3 separate regions of the Homo sapiens genome follow, and regions 1 and 3 are each linked to region 2. Evidence: promoter capture Hi-C in 16 types of primary human blood cells and fetal thymus (Javierre and others, 2016). All regions are on one chromosome and are shown on one strand. Each heading gives the region's core, a stretch centred on a gene start or on the middle of the fragment in contact. The rest is flanking DNA. Distances are from core to core; before and after follow the strand shown.

Region 1 (4,263 bases), core at 285-2,784, 2.0 Mb before region 2:
ACTGTAGTAATTAGACTGCAGTTGATGAGTATACTTGTATGTTTGTCTTAAATGTCATATCAGACAACTTCCACAGTTTAGTGATTGACAGTTATAATGGTCAGAACAAAGGAACACCAGTCATCATAAACATAATTTCTCTGTGTCTGGGGGAAGGAGGTATAGACCCTGGCTGTAACAGTACTTGCTAATTAAACTGTAGTATACTGGAGACTTTTAATCTGCCTGCCTTCAACAGGCTGTTTGTTTATTAAAGTTCAACTGTTGGACTACATTCAAGGGCTTTCAGTGTTGACTTTAGTACTACTTTTGAAGATAAACATAACTCTTCACTTTCATTTAAAGCCTTTGTAAGAACTTTTAACGCTGAAAGAAAAGATAAGTGAGCTATTATTATTCTTAAAATATACTTCAAATTTTATTTTTAAAAGGCAAACTGTGGGGATTTTTCTCTTATTATTTAAATTTGTTTCTCATATAAACATATAGCCAGGAATCAGGAAAAATGATCTTGTTTGCTTTATTGTTGTATTTATTGTATTCAGGATTGGAATTTAATGTATTGAATTTCGATGGAATTCATTGGGCATAAGGCATAACATAAAATAGAGTACAGTTGCCATTTTTTCCTCCAGCAAAATTTTAAGTCATGGAGATAAATAATGAGTATTCATTTATTTATTCAAAAATATGTATTTATTAGTTCCTCTTAAGTACATTTTTTTGTGTTGGAATACTTACAACCATGGATGAGACATTTAAGAACTCAATCTGTACATAAAATAGAAGAGAGGACAATTCATTTTGTGAAGGGAAGTTATGCTAACTATTCACTAGCTGCTATGATTTCGTCATGTCCCCCAAAGTTATGTGTTGGAAATTTAATTCCCAATGCAACAATGTTGAGAGGTGGGACCTTTAAGAGGTGATTAGGTCATGAGGGGTCTGCCCTTATGAATGGATTAATGCCATTATCTAGGGAGTCGGTTAGTTATCATGGGAGTAGGTTCCTAATAAAAAGGAGTTTGGCTCCCTTTCTTCTCTCACATGTGTGCTTTCTTCCCCTTCTGCCTTCTACCACGGGACGATGCAGCAAGAAGGCCCTTAACCTTGGACTTTCTAGCCCCCAGAACTGTGAGCCAAATAAATTTCTGTTCATTATAAATTACCTAGCCTCAGGTATTTCACTATAGCAGTACAAAACAGATCAAGACACTGGCTAACCCTCCAAATTCATTCTCCATCCTTCTCTGCCCTACGTCGACCTACAGATTGCATTATCTGAGTTTCTTTGCTCCTCTGACTTTGGGAGAATAGATAGTAGGAGAAGAGAAAGATTTGGGTATTTATTCCCCCTACTCGCTCAGCCAAACTATGTTTCCTTTACCTTATGACCACAGCTTCTTTTGGGCAATCCTTCAGTTCTCTCTGATTTCAGCCCTTCCATTCCCTGCTCTGTCTCTTCAGTTGCAGGGATGGTAATAGCTTCTCTTCGTTGTTAGTCACTGGGTGCTTCACCGTCCTTGGTTATTGTTACTCTTGACACACCTCTGTATTTAGTCCCTTCATTGAATTCTCTTCAATTAACCTTCCTGCTGGGCTGCTTACTGTCACAGACAGGAATATGGAAGGTAAAGGAAGAGAATACAGGGATTTCTTTACCTTCAAATTTTCAGCACGTAGATCGTGATAGATCTGAACAAAGCTACTATCCAGATAAAAAACATGCAATTTCTGTTGCTGCCAACAGATGGCATTAGTAGTCATAGTTGGTTATTTGGGGCCATGAAGTGTTCCGTTCTTGACTCTGTTAGCTGCTTTTCTCTATTTTTAGAAAATGTTTTACAAATATTAACTCCATCCACACCTGATAAATGCAAAACAGTAAGAGTATTGGGAAAAGCTATTTTAGCAGGCATACATTTGTTTATGATAAAGCCAAGAATAGAGATTATTCAAAACAGATGGAAAATAGAAAGAAAAGAACAAAGTTTGCATATGCACAAAGAATGAACTTTTGAAAACAGGAATAATTTTAAAGGGACAGAAAAGCATTGTGTCTAATTGTTATGGACTGAATTTTGTCCTCTCAAAATTCATTTATTGATGGACTAATCCCTAATGTGGCTATATTTGGAGATAGGGCTTTGAGGAGTTAATTAAGGTTAAATGAAGTCACAAGAATGGGGCCCTAACCCAATAGAACTGGTGTCCTTATGGGAAGAGGAAAAGACAACGGGAGTATATGTGCACAGAAGAAAGACCACGTGAGGACACAGCAAAAAGGTGGCCCTCTGTGAGCCAAGGAGAGAAACCTCAGGAGAAACCAACCCTGCCAGCAATTTGATCTTGGACTTTTAGCCTCCAGAGAAGTAAATTTGTGAAAAATAAATTTCTGTTGTTAAAGCCACCCAATCTGTGGGATTTTGTTATAGCACCCCTAGCAGACCAATACACAAACCCGTGGACAGTAATCCCCAAGAGACTAAGTGACTAAAGCAATGAAAAACATAGTATTTGCATGTGTGGCTAAAGGCTCAGTATTAATATCAAATGCTTATTAGCATTAGGAGAGGGCTAGGAACTTGTTCCAAAACTGAAAATGCGGAATGACCCTGGTGGCGTCTCCCATAGCTGACTGGATGGTTATCGATGCTATGAATCCAATTAGGAAAACAGGGGAAAGAACGAATTTGATGGGGAAAATGAGTCTGACTTGGGGCATACTGAGTTTGAGTTGTCTTAAGGACATTCAAGTAGAGACTTCTGAAAGAACTTGGAATATTAGACCAGAATTAAGGTGATAAATGATTTGGGGATAAAAATTCAATTGACACATATGGTTGGGTTTTAGTTTTAGTTTTTCTGAGACAGGGTCCCACTCTGTCACCCAGGCTGGAGTGCAGCATTGTGATCTCGGCTCACTGCAACCTCGGCCTCCCGGGCTCAAGCAATCCTCCCTCCTCAGCCCCCCAAGCAGTTGGGACTATGGGTACCCACCACCACGCCTGGCTAATTTTTATGTATTTTTTGTAGAGACAGGGTTTTGCCATGTTGCCCAGGCTGGTCTCGAACTCCTGGACTCAAGCGACCCGCCTGCCTCAGTCTCCCAAAGTGCTGGGATTACAGGCATGAGCCACAGTGCCTGACCTAAAACATATGTATTGAGCACCTACTGTGTGCTAGGCACTGTCTAATGCTTAGGTTACCTCAGTGAACAAAAGAGGCAAAAACCCCTATCTCATGGAGCTGAAATTCTACTGGACAGGAGAAAGAAAAAAACAAAAAGCAATAACATAATGAGTATGTTATACAGTATTTTAGGAGACAATTCAATGCCTTAGGGCAACAGAGCATGCCAAGGGAATTGGAGATGCTGGTGTGAGGAGGTACAGGTTGCAATATTCTCTAACGTCATTCAGATTAGGTCTCATTGAGAAGATGGCATTTGAACAAAGACTTGAAGGTAAAAGAGGTAGCCGAGGGGCTGTCTGAAAAAAGTGTGGTCCAGGAGAGGGAATAAACACTGTAAAGGCCCTAGGGTGACAGCATGCCTGGTGTATCAGAGAGACAGCAAAGATTCCAGCAAGGCTGTAGCCTAATGAAAGAAGAGGAGAGTAATAGTAGATGATGACAGAGGCACAAGGTGGAGGAGGTGTCAGGTCACTCAGGCTAAGTCTTTTGTAAGGAGTTTGGGTATTACTCTGAGTGAAATGGAAGCTTCCAAATAGAGGTGTTACCAGGTCTTTCATTTTAAAATAATTACTGGCTGCTGTATTACCAATAAGCAGTGAGAAGAAGGAAGGGCAAGGGTGGGAGCAAGGAGACCAGTTGGGGCACAATTGCAGTAACAGAAGAGGAGGTAGAAGTTTGCTAATTCGAAGGTAGAGGTGATTTACTAATGAACTATATGTGGAGTTTCAGAGAATTAAAGGAATCAAGGATGACTTCAAGAGTTTTAAACTGGGAAACAAGAAGGATAAGAAAATGGATTAAAGAAAAGATCATAACTTTCAAAAGTATTGAGATGTTTGTTGCCATCTATTTGCATATGTTGAATAGGCATTCTGATATGTTTGACTGGATATTAGGAGTGAGGTTCAAGCTAAAAATATAAATTTGGGAGTGAGCAGCACGTGGATGGTATTTACAGCCATGCTATTAATTGAGATTACCAAGATAATGAATGTACTTAGAAAAGAAAATCAAGGATTCAGTCGGGGTCACGCCAATAGTAACAGTTCTTGGAGAAAAGGAGCATCC
Region 2 (4,233 bases), core at 1,733-4,232:
CTAAGAAGATTAGAGGATACAGCAGCCAGGGACTGGGGAGCTGACAAGGACAGAGGATGAAGATGAGTGGGATGAGGAGGAGTTGAGAAGCCTGCTGTTGGGTGGTTATTCAGTTGGCCCTCCACAGCCATGGGTTCCACATCCACAAACTCAACCAACCACAGACCGAAAATATTCTCAAAAATAGATAAATATATGAACAATATGACAATAATAATAAACCAATACAGTATAGGAACTATTTATATAGCATTTATTTCATATTTGGTATAAGTAATCTAGAGATGATTTAAAGCACACAGGAGGGTGCGCATAGGTTATATGCAAATTCTATGCCATTTTATATAAGGGACTTGAGCATTTATGGATTGTGGATTTTGGTATCATCGGGAGTCCTGGAATCAATCCTCCATGGATACTGAGGGACAACTGTACATGTGGATATTGACCTGATCCATGGCAGTGTCTTGTAGTGGAGAGGAAGCTGGTGAGTTATGGGCCAAAGTTTTCAGTGAATGAGAGGGAGTCACTTGCAGATGAGTTGCAAGGAGAGGTATATGTTCCCAAATGGAGAGACATTCAGGAGCATGGAAATCAAGTGCCTAGATTTCCTCACACTGTAGGTGAGGAGAAACTTCCTCCTCACCTTTTTTTTTTTTTTTTTTGATGGAGTCTCTCGCTCTGTCGCCCAGGCTGCAACCTCTGCCTCCCAGGTTCAAGCAATTCTCCCGCCTCAGCCTCCCGAGTAGCTGGGATTACAGGTGCCTGCCACTACACACAGCTAATTTTTTGTAATTTTAGTAGAGATGGGGTTTCGCTATGTTGGCCAGGCTGGTCTTGAACTCCTGACCTCAGGTGATCCACCTGCCTCAGCCTCCCAAAGTGTTGGGATTACAGGCATGAGCCACTACGCCTGGCCTCTTCTCACCTCTTTGGTTCTGTAGCTGGGCATGGGAATTACACTAACATAAGACAGATTTACTGGAAAAGGCATAAAAGTTTTAATATTTTTGTACATGCACAGGAGGCTTTGTAAGAAAAATAAAGACCCATAGAAGTTACTAGGCCCGAAAGCTTATATGTCCTTTTAAACAAAAAATAATAAATTGCAGGGATGTGACAAGACAAAGGGGCTTGGGCTAAGGCTGGCAAATTGTGGGAAAGTGACGAAGAACCGTATGTAGAAAGTTAATGGAAAATATGGGTTACAAATTTTTGTAAGGTTTTGTTTGTAGATTCTTCTCAGTGGCAACTCTGCCTCTGGCAATAATATTCTCCTCTTCCTGGTACAGAAAGGGCACCTTTCACAAGGGAACTTTTATGTTCCGCTTCAAACAGAAAGAGGGTGGTCAGACAGCCTTCCCTGCATCTGTTTTTGCTCCATTGCCTCTGGCTCAGAAGAATCAGTATGCCAAAGTGGCATATTTTAGGATGGCAGGCTCTAAACACCTTCAGCATTGTTCTAAAGTGAGACAACACTCTTTACCTAGTCTCCTCAGCCACTTTTACAGTTGGCCCTAATCCCCATAACAGTCCTGGAAACTTATTTTTACTGTTAAGGAAACTGAGATTTAGAGGGGAGGTGACTGAGCCACAACCCACACCCCAGAGGGCTGTTCCAAAGCCCTCCTCGAAATTGGTGCCAAGGGCAGCAGCTATAATGACAGCCAGTCCACATAGAAGTGCCTCCGTTGATCACCAATTAACAGTAAAATCTGATAATATCTCATTCCAAGGTTGTTATAAGCACTAAATGTGGTTTTGTGACATAATAGGCGTTTGTTTCTCCCCACTGCTTCCCACCACAATATATTCATCAAGACCTTTCCAAGGATACTAAGTCTAGGAAACCCAGGATCATGAAGAGAGGGCATGTTCTTCCAAGTGAGGCTGAGGAGAGACTTGTCTGGCGAGGCCTGTACTGACTAGTGACATTAAAAGAGGCGATCTGACTTCTCATACTGCTCTTGTCCCAGGCCTGCTGTTTGTCAACTGCTGGGTCCTCAGAGCCAAAACTGTTTTCCAACAGTTTTGAATTGAATAACAGCCAGCTATTCGATTTTCTCCGCATTCTCTAATCGGTATACTCTTCAGAGTCCACAGGATTTGCAACGATATTATCCAACGGCTGAAGAATGTGCGCTTGACATCTTAGGCTGTAAAATGTCTCAATTTCAATTTCTAATACATAGATGTCAGTGGATGGCATTTTCTGAACCCTTTGTCGATGTCCATAAACGGCATGCTCTGAATTCAACTAAACAAAAGTATAGACATGGGGGAGGTGTAGGGCGATGTCCAAAGTATAATTTTTAAGAGTGTAAAGGGTTCCTAAGTAAGATTGCCAGATTTTTTTTTTTTTTTTGAGACGGAGTCTCACTCTATCCCCCAGGCTGGAGTGCAATGGCGCGATCTTGGCTCACTGCAGCCTCCACCTCCCGCGCTCAAGAGATTCTTCTGCCGCAGCCTCCAGGGTAGCTGGGATTACCCCAGAGCCCGCCACTGAGCCCGGCTAATTTTTGTATATTTATTAGAGAAGGGGTTTCACCACGTTGGCCAGGCTGATCTCGAACTCCTGAGCTCAAGTAATCCGCCGGCCTTGGTCTCCCAAAGTGCTGGGATTGCAGGCGTGAGCCACCACGCCAGACCTGGATTGCCAGATTTAGCACATAAAAATACAGGACCCCCAGTTAAACGCCTCTCGGATAAACCATTATTGCATGGGATACACTCACGCTAAAAAAATTGTTCGTCGTTTACCTGAAAGTCACATTTAATTGGGCGTCCTGTATTTTACCCGGCAAATTCTAGGCCTGAGACCAAAAAGTTTGAGAACCCTGCCCCTAGGCGACAGCAAGCGGAACTGCAGCAAGCTCCCAGTAATTCCGGGTGCTGCACTTCCGGTCAGGCGGTCGGGCTGCGGGGCCCTGGGGCCAGCTCACCGCCGGAAGTCTCCGCGTCCCCCCCACCCCGGCCAGATCCCTTTCCCAGTCCTGCTTCCCAGTGCCTCGGGCCAGGGAATCCTGGCCTCCGCCTGCGGAGCCGGCGGAACCCGCTTCCCGCCTCCACGGGGCAGCGCCAGCGGCCTGGTCCTTTCACCGGCAGCTCCGTGCCGACGCTCTCACCGCTCTTCCTATCGCCGGGAGTGGCGGGCCGACCAGGGGGCGGCCGGGCTACCGTCCGCCATTCCCGTGTCTCTGCGCCCGCGGGGGCCGCCCGAGCCGGCCACCATGCCGCTGGGCCTGAAGCCCACCTGCAGCGTATGCAAGACCACGTCGTCCTCCATGTGGAAGAAGGGAGCGCAGGGGGAGATCCTCTGCCATCATTGCACTGGCCGGGGCGGCGCGGGCAGCGGGGGCGCAGGCTCGGGGGCGGCTGGAGGGACTGGGGGCAGCGGCGGCGGCGGCTTCGGCGCGGCGACCTTCGCCAGCACCTCCGCCACCCCTCCGCAGAGCAACGGGGGCGGGGGCGGCAAGCAGGTGAGCTCCTCCGGCCCCTCCCGCCGGCGGAGGCCGACCAGGTGCTAGGCGGGCGGGGACGGGCTGGCTGGGAGCGGGCGGGCGCGGGCTTCCCCGATCGCCGTGCTCCTGCTGGCTGGAACGCCCCTCCCCACCTCCTACTGAGATCTTTCGTTTGGCCCATTCCGAAGCACCTGTTATTGTAAGAAATTCAAAGCAATAAGAACCAAGATGTAAAGCCCTTAAGAAAATCTCAATATACACATGTCTACACAGTCGTATACAGTGTCATGCCACAAATGCAGGCGCTGGACCTCATTCCTTGTTAAAGGTTTTGTCATATCAGGTTATGAAGTAAGATTATTATGTCATTATTGTAAATGGCAGCTTAAGTATTCCGTTGCAGGGGGCGCCATAACCTACTACGTTCTCTGGCCTTAGGGAGTAAAGTTGTTAAGTGTTTTTCTCTATTGTAGACACAACAAATGAATAGTGTTTGTCTTGGTCAAGACTGACTCCTACTCCCGCCTCCTGCCCTATTACAAGCAGCTCACACCTTTTGGAGGCTCTGGAGACGCCTGTCCAGCGAGCTCCGAGATTCCGGGTGCTGAACTTCCGGTTTTACTTAGCCTAGTTGCTGTAATTACTTCTCTTGAAAAGCAAAAGGGCAATCTTAATTGTTAAATGCTCTTATAAAGTACATACTCTGGGATCCTTGTAAGATGATTGTACTGCAACCTTTATGCACTTTTTACTTCTTTCTCTTTTTGTTCTT
Region 3 (3,785 bases), core at 914-3,413, 1.4 Mb before region 2:
AAGAGTTAAGGGCCACATGTGGTTGGTTGCTGCCATATTGGGTGACACAATTCTAGATCATTTAAATGCTCGTCAGTGTAATACAAATGTGGATGTCTGCTGCTTTGGAAACACTACACTAAAGAGTCATTGCATTTTGCACTCAAGTGTCCAGAGATCTTGCTTTTTATTTTTGCTTCTCACCCCTATCTTTTATTTGTAAACACCCTGAGTATAATAGCTCTGGAGTACCCAATAAGCATAATAAATCTGCAGGGGGAATAGTGGAAATATCAAAGAACATCAAGCAGACATTCCTTTCCCTGCCTCCTCCCCTCCAGAAGCCACGCTGTTCCCTCCTGAGGGGCGCAGCCTGTTGCAAGTGTCTCTATTCCTTTCTCCTTCTTGTGTTGTCTCTCTCTCTTTTCTGTTGGGAACTGTTAGGGGTTAGACACACAGCTCTCTACCCTTTTTGAACTCCCTTAAGAATTCACCTCTCTGCTGTTGTTCCCGATCTCCTTGATCTCCCCTAACTCTACTCAGAAAACACCGTAAAGGCTCAGCTTCCTGTTCATCACATATGAGATGCTATTGAGAGGGGCTCCATTTTCTAAATAAGCCTTCCAAATAAAGAGCTGATCCAGGTCTTCCTCACTGGGCCCCTGTGGGTGTGTGTGTGTGTGTGTGTGTGTATATATCTTAATTCTTAAGTTTTAGGACATTGAAAACTACCACATTTTACAAAGTGAAGCATGAACAGAAATGCAGTCATTTTTACCTCTCCTTATGTAAAAGAAACACATGATATGTGATACCTTTCCTCAAATTTATTGATATCATTTTCATTTGATTAAGAAAATATTTACAAATTTAGTGAATGTTCAGCCTCAAAATAAAGATGAATATAAGAAGTCACTGGAGAAAAACACTATTCGCTTTTAGCGTTTTTGTTTTGTTTTTTTGCAGCTTTATTGCCCAGGCTGCAGTGGCATGATCATGGCTCACTACAGCCTTGACCTCCAGGGCTCAAGCAATCCTCCCACCTCAGCCTCCCAAGTAGCTGGGACTATAAGTACCTACCACCATCCCTAGCTAAGAAAGAGATGATTTTAACAACAATGTCATCCCTAGTATCCACTGTTACCCATTCCACCTTCTACTTATTTGATTTTCATGAAACAATATATCCCTCTCTTCATTTGGGGAGACTTTATAATACTGGGGCTCAATTTCTATTCATTGTGAGGATAGAGCTCCTAGAGTATTCTTATTAACACCTGCATCTAACATGTTGTGTACATAGTGGTCTTACTGACCTAAGAATATACCATCAATAAATAGTATTGACATAGCAAAGAAAAAAACAGAAGAGAGGAAGGAAGGTTGCACAAGCTAATTATTGACACAAATAGCAATTAAATGCTTGGAGCCAGCATCATCTTTGGTAGCATAGGAACCAGGTTCATCCCTAGTTCCACTACTGAGCTGTGTAATATTCAGGAAGCTCATTAACCTCTCTGAGCCTCAGCTTTTCAATTTGTATAACCTCTTGGCAGGATTATTGTTTAATCTTTAAGTAAGGTAAGGGTATAAATTACTGGGTACCTTACTAGACACAGTCCTTTGGCAAATATTAGTTTACCTCCCTTCTCTTTTTCAGTGCTCCCTGTCCTACCTCCCAGTGAGAGCGTTTCATTCAGCTCCGAATAAGCAATTACTCTTGAACATGGATACCACTCCTACATAGAGTCCCCAGACATCTTCTGGAATATTCTTTTTACCTTCTTAGGGGCACATGCTGAACTGCTTGGTCACCAAAACTTTTTTTTTTTAATGCTTGTTGTGTAAAAACAAGATTTCCCCTTCCTCAACAGTTTCTTCCTAAGAGTGGTGTGTTAACAAATAGCGTTGTACATAATTAATGCAATACTGTGATTTGTTCTTAGTCTTGAAACACATTTTATTAGACAGTTTTCCAAATTAGATTGAAAGAAACCCATAGACAGGTCACTGTTACCAAGTTCAAATGTCTATTGGACCTTTTCTTGTAATATAACCTGTACACAAACTGATGGATAACCCTAAGCCAGATGTGTGGGATCTGGGCATCCATTTGGCCCAGTCATTTCAGAGGTGAGACTAAAAGTAATTATCCTTGCTGTTTACAGCATTTAAAGGGGGAAGGTAGATGAATTATCTCTCAAAACACAATGAATAAAGGCTGGGAGCATGGCCATGCCATATCTGTTGTGGTGAGGAAAATGGGAAGGGGATTCTGAAAGTAACTGGCCTTTTTCTTTTAGACACTGAGCCACATCCATACCCTAAGGCACAGATCCCATGTTAAACGGTTATTTCCATCATGGCAGTGACATTTACTTTAACAACAGATTTCATTATGTCTTTAACAACAACAAAAATGCACTGAAAAGCCTGAAACACACACATACACAACTCCCAACACAATTATTTTTCTGTCTTCTCTGAAAGAATATTTTAAAATCATTTCAACATCTTTGGGATTTCAGAAAAATCTAGTATTGGTTTACAATGGAAGTCTCATAGAGTTTATATATATGTGTGTGTGTGTGTGTGTGTGTGGTTATTATTACTCAGACTATAAATGAGACAAATGAATAGAAATATTAAAGGGATCAATATTCTGGCCCTCATTATATTGTTATACAGCATATCTTTGTGTATCTCTATGTGAATTCTCTGCTAGTCCTCAGCTGTATTTAATCCCTCAAGACTTGATATACAAACATAATGCCAAATAGAGAACTTCCCTTAAATTATTCAAATCTCCCCATAAGTGATTTCCCACTCTTCCTGCAATAGAAAACATTTGATCATAAATTCAATTAAATCAGCCATCATCTTTGTGATGTTTGTCCAGCTAAATCCTTTAGTGACTAAACCAATAAACATACCAGCTGTGAGTGTGCATGTGTGTGTGTGAGTGTGTGTTTATGGCACAACTATTGCAAAAGAATCGATTTGAAGTAAAGATGAAGGGTAGTTCTCATTTCTTAGGCCAGATTTTAACTACTTCACTGAAGCCAGGGCTTAAAAGATTAAACTTTTAGGGATAAAATCATGTGTACTTCTTTAAATGCTTTGGCTTTTATTTGCTAATTTAGAACTGAGTTTTAATAAGTTTTAGATCAAAACTGATGTACTTTGGAGATGTTAGGAAAAGGCATCAAACCACGTCAACCATTCTTCCTTCTCTTTCTTCCCCAGCCTCTCCTCCCTAGTTAAAACAAAGAAAAAATGACTGTCGACATACTTTTAAGTTTCTCAGGGAAAACGGCATGATAGGACTATATTACTGTTTATAATTTCTTATATGTCTGTCGGCTGAAGAGGTAAAGTTTATCAGAGGCTTATAAATGTTGATTGCTTCTCATCTTGATTCTAAAGCCTTTTAGACACGCAGATATACCCAACCTCCTCCCCTCTTTTTCATCTTACCTTTACTAATGATCCTATTTGGATATAACTGAACCCTATTTATGCATCTTCACATATGTGTATATCCATGTGGCCTGTAGAGGGCAGCATGCTCTGAGGGGAAAAAAAAAAAAAAACAGGCAACTGTTTATCTCCGTAAAATATGAGATACGCAGCTATATATATATTTTCCGATAGCAAAACAAGTAAAATGTCTCTGTTAGAGAAGCCAGAGCTGCCCCATGCTTTGTCTGTCCCTCTCTGCCACGTTAGGTGTCTGTTTGGATGATGAATATTTTTTATGAATTGGCTCAGCCTACCTTGGAGGCTACTTAGGGATTACACCAGGC

What was found. Contacts are between HindIII fragments. The CHiCAGO score rates a contact against its expected background, and 5 or more counts as called.
Region 1: a fragment that was not itself captured here is called in contact with the fragment with the promoter of GATAD1 in region 2 in 4 of 17 cell types (naive CD8 T cells, total CD8 T cells, total CD4 T cells and 1 more); the score reaches 11.5 in naive CD8 T cells.
Region 3: a fragment that was not itself captured here is called in contact with the fragment with the promoter of GATAD1 in region 2 in 3 of 17 cell types (naive CD4 T cells, fetal thymus and non-activated CD4 T cells); the score reaches 10.2 in naive CD4 T cells.

What each region holds. Positions count from the first base shown.
Region 1 is chr7:90,453,870-90,458,132 of GRCh38, forward strand. No RefSeq gene overlaps it. Among named protein-coding and RNA genes, the nearest start is that of PTTG1IP2, 14 kb to the right of the region's middle. The HindIII fragment of the contact is 4,367 bases long and covers 1-3,718 here.
Region 2 is chr7:92,444,500-92,448,732 of GRCh38, forward strand. GATAD1 (GATA zinc finger domain containing 1) reads left to right here and starts at 2,983. Exons shown (of 5, transcript NM_021167.5): 1 at 2,983-3,479. The coding sequence starts at 3,231. RefSeq lists a silencer at 2,903-3,672 and an enhancer at 4,103-4,152. The HindIII fragment of the contact is 4,596 bases long and covers 1,073-4,233 here.
Region 3 is chr7:91,086,014-91,089,798 of GRCh38, forward strand. The region is part of intron 12 of CDK14 (cyclin dependent kinase 14); the gene reads left to right. Among named protein-coding and RNA genes, the nearest start is that of FZD1, 180 kb to the right of the region's middle. The HindIII fragment of the contact is 5,564 bases long and covers 1-3,785 here.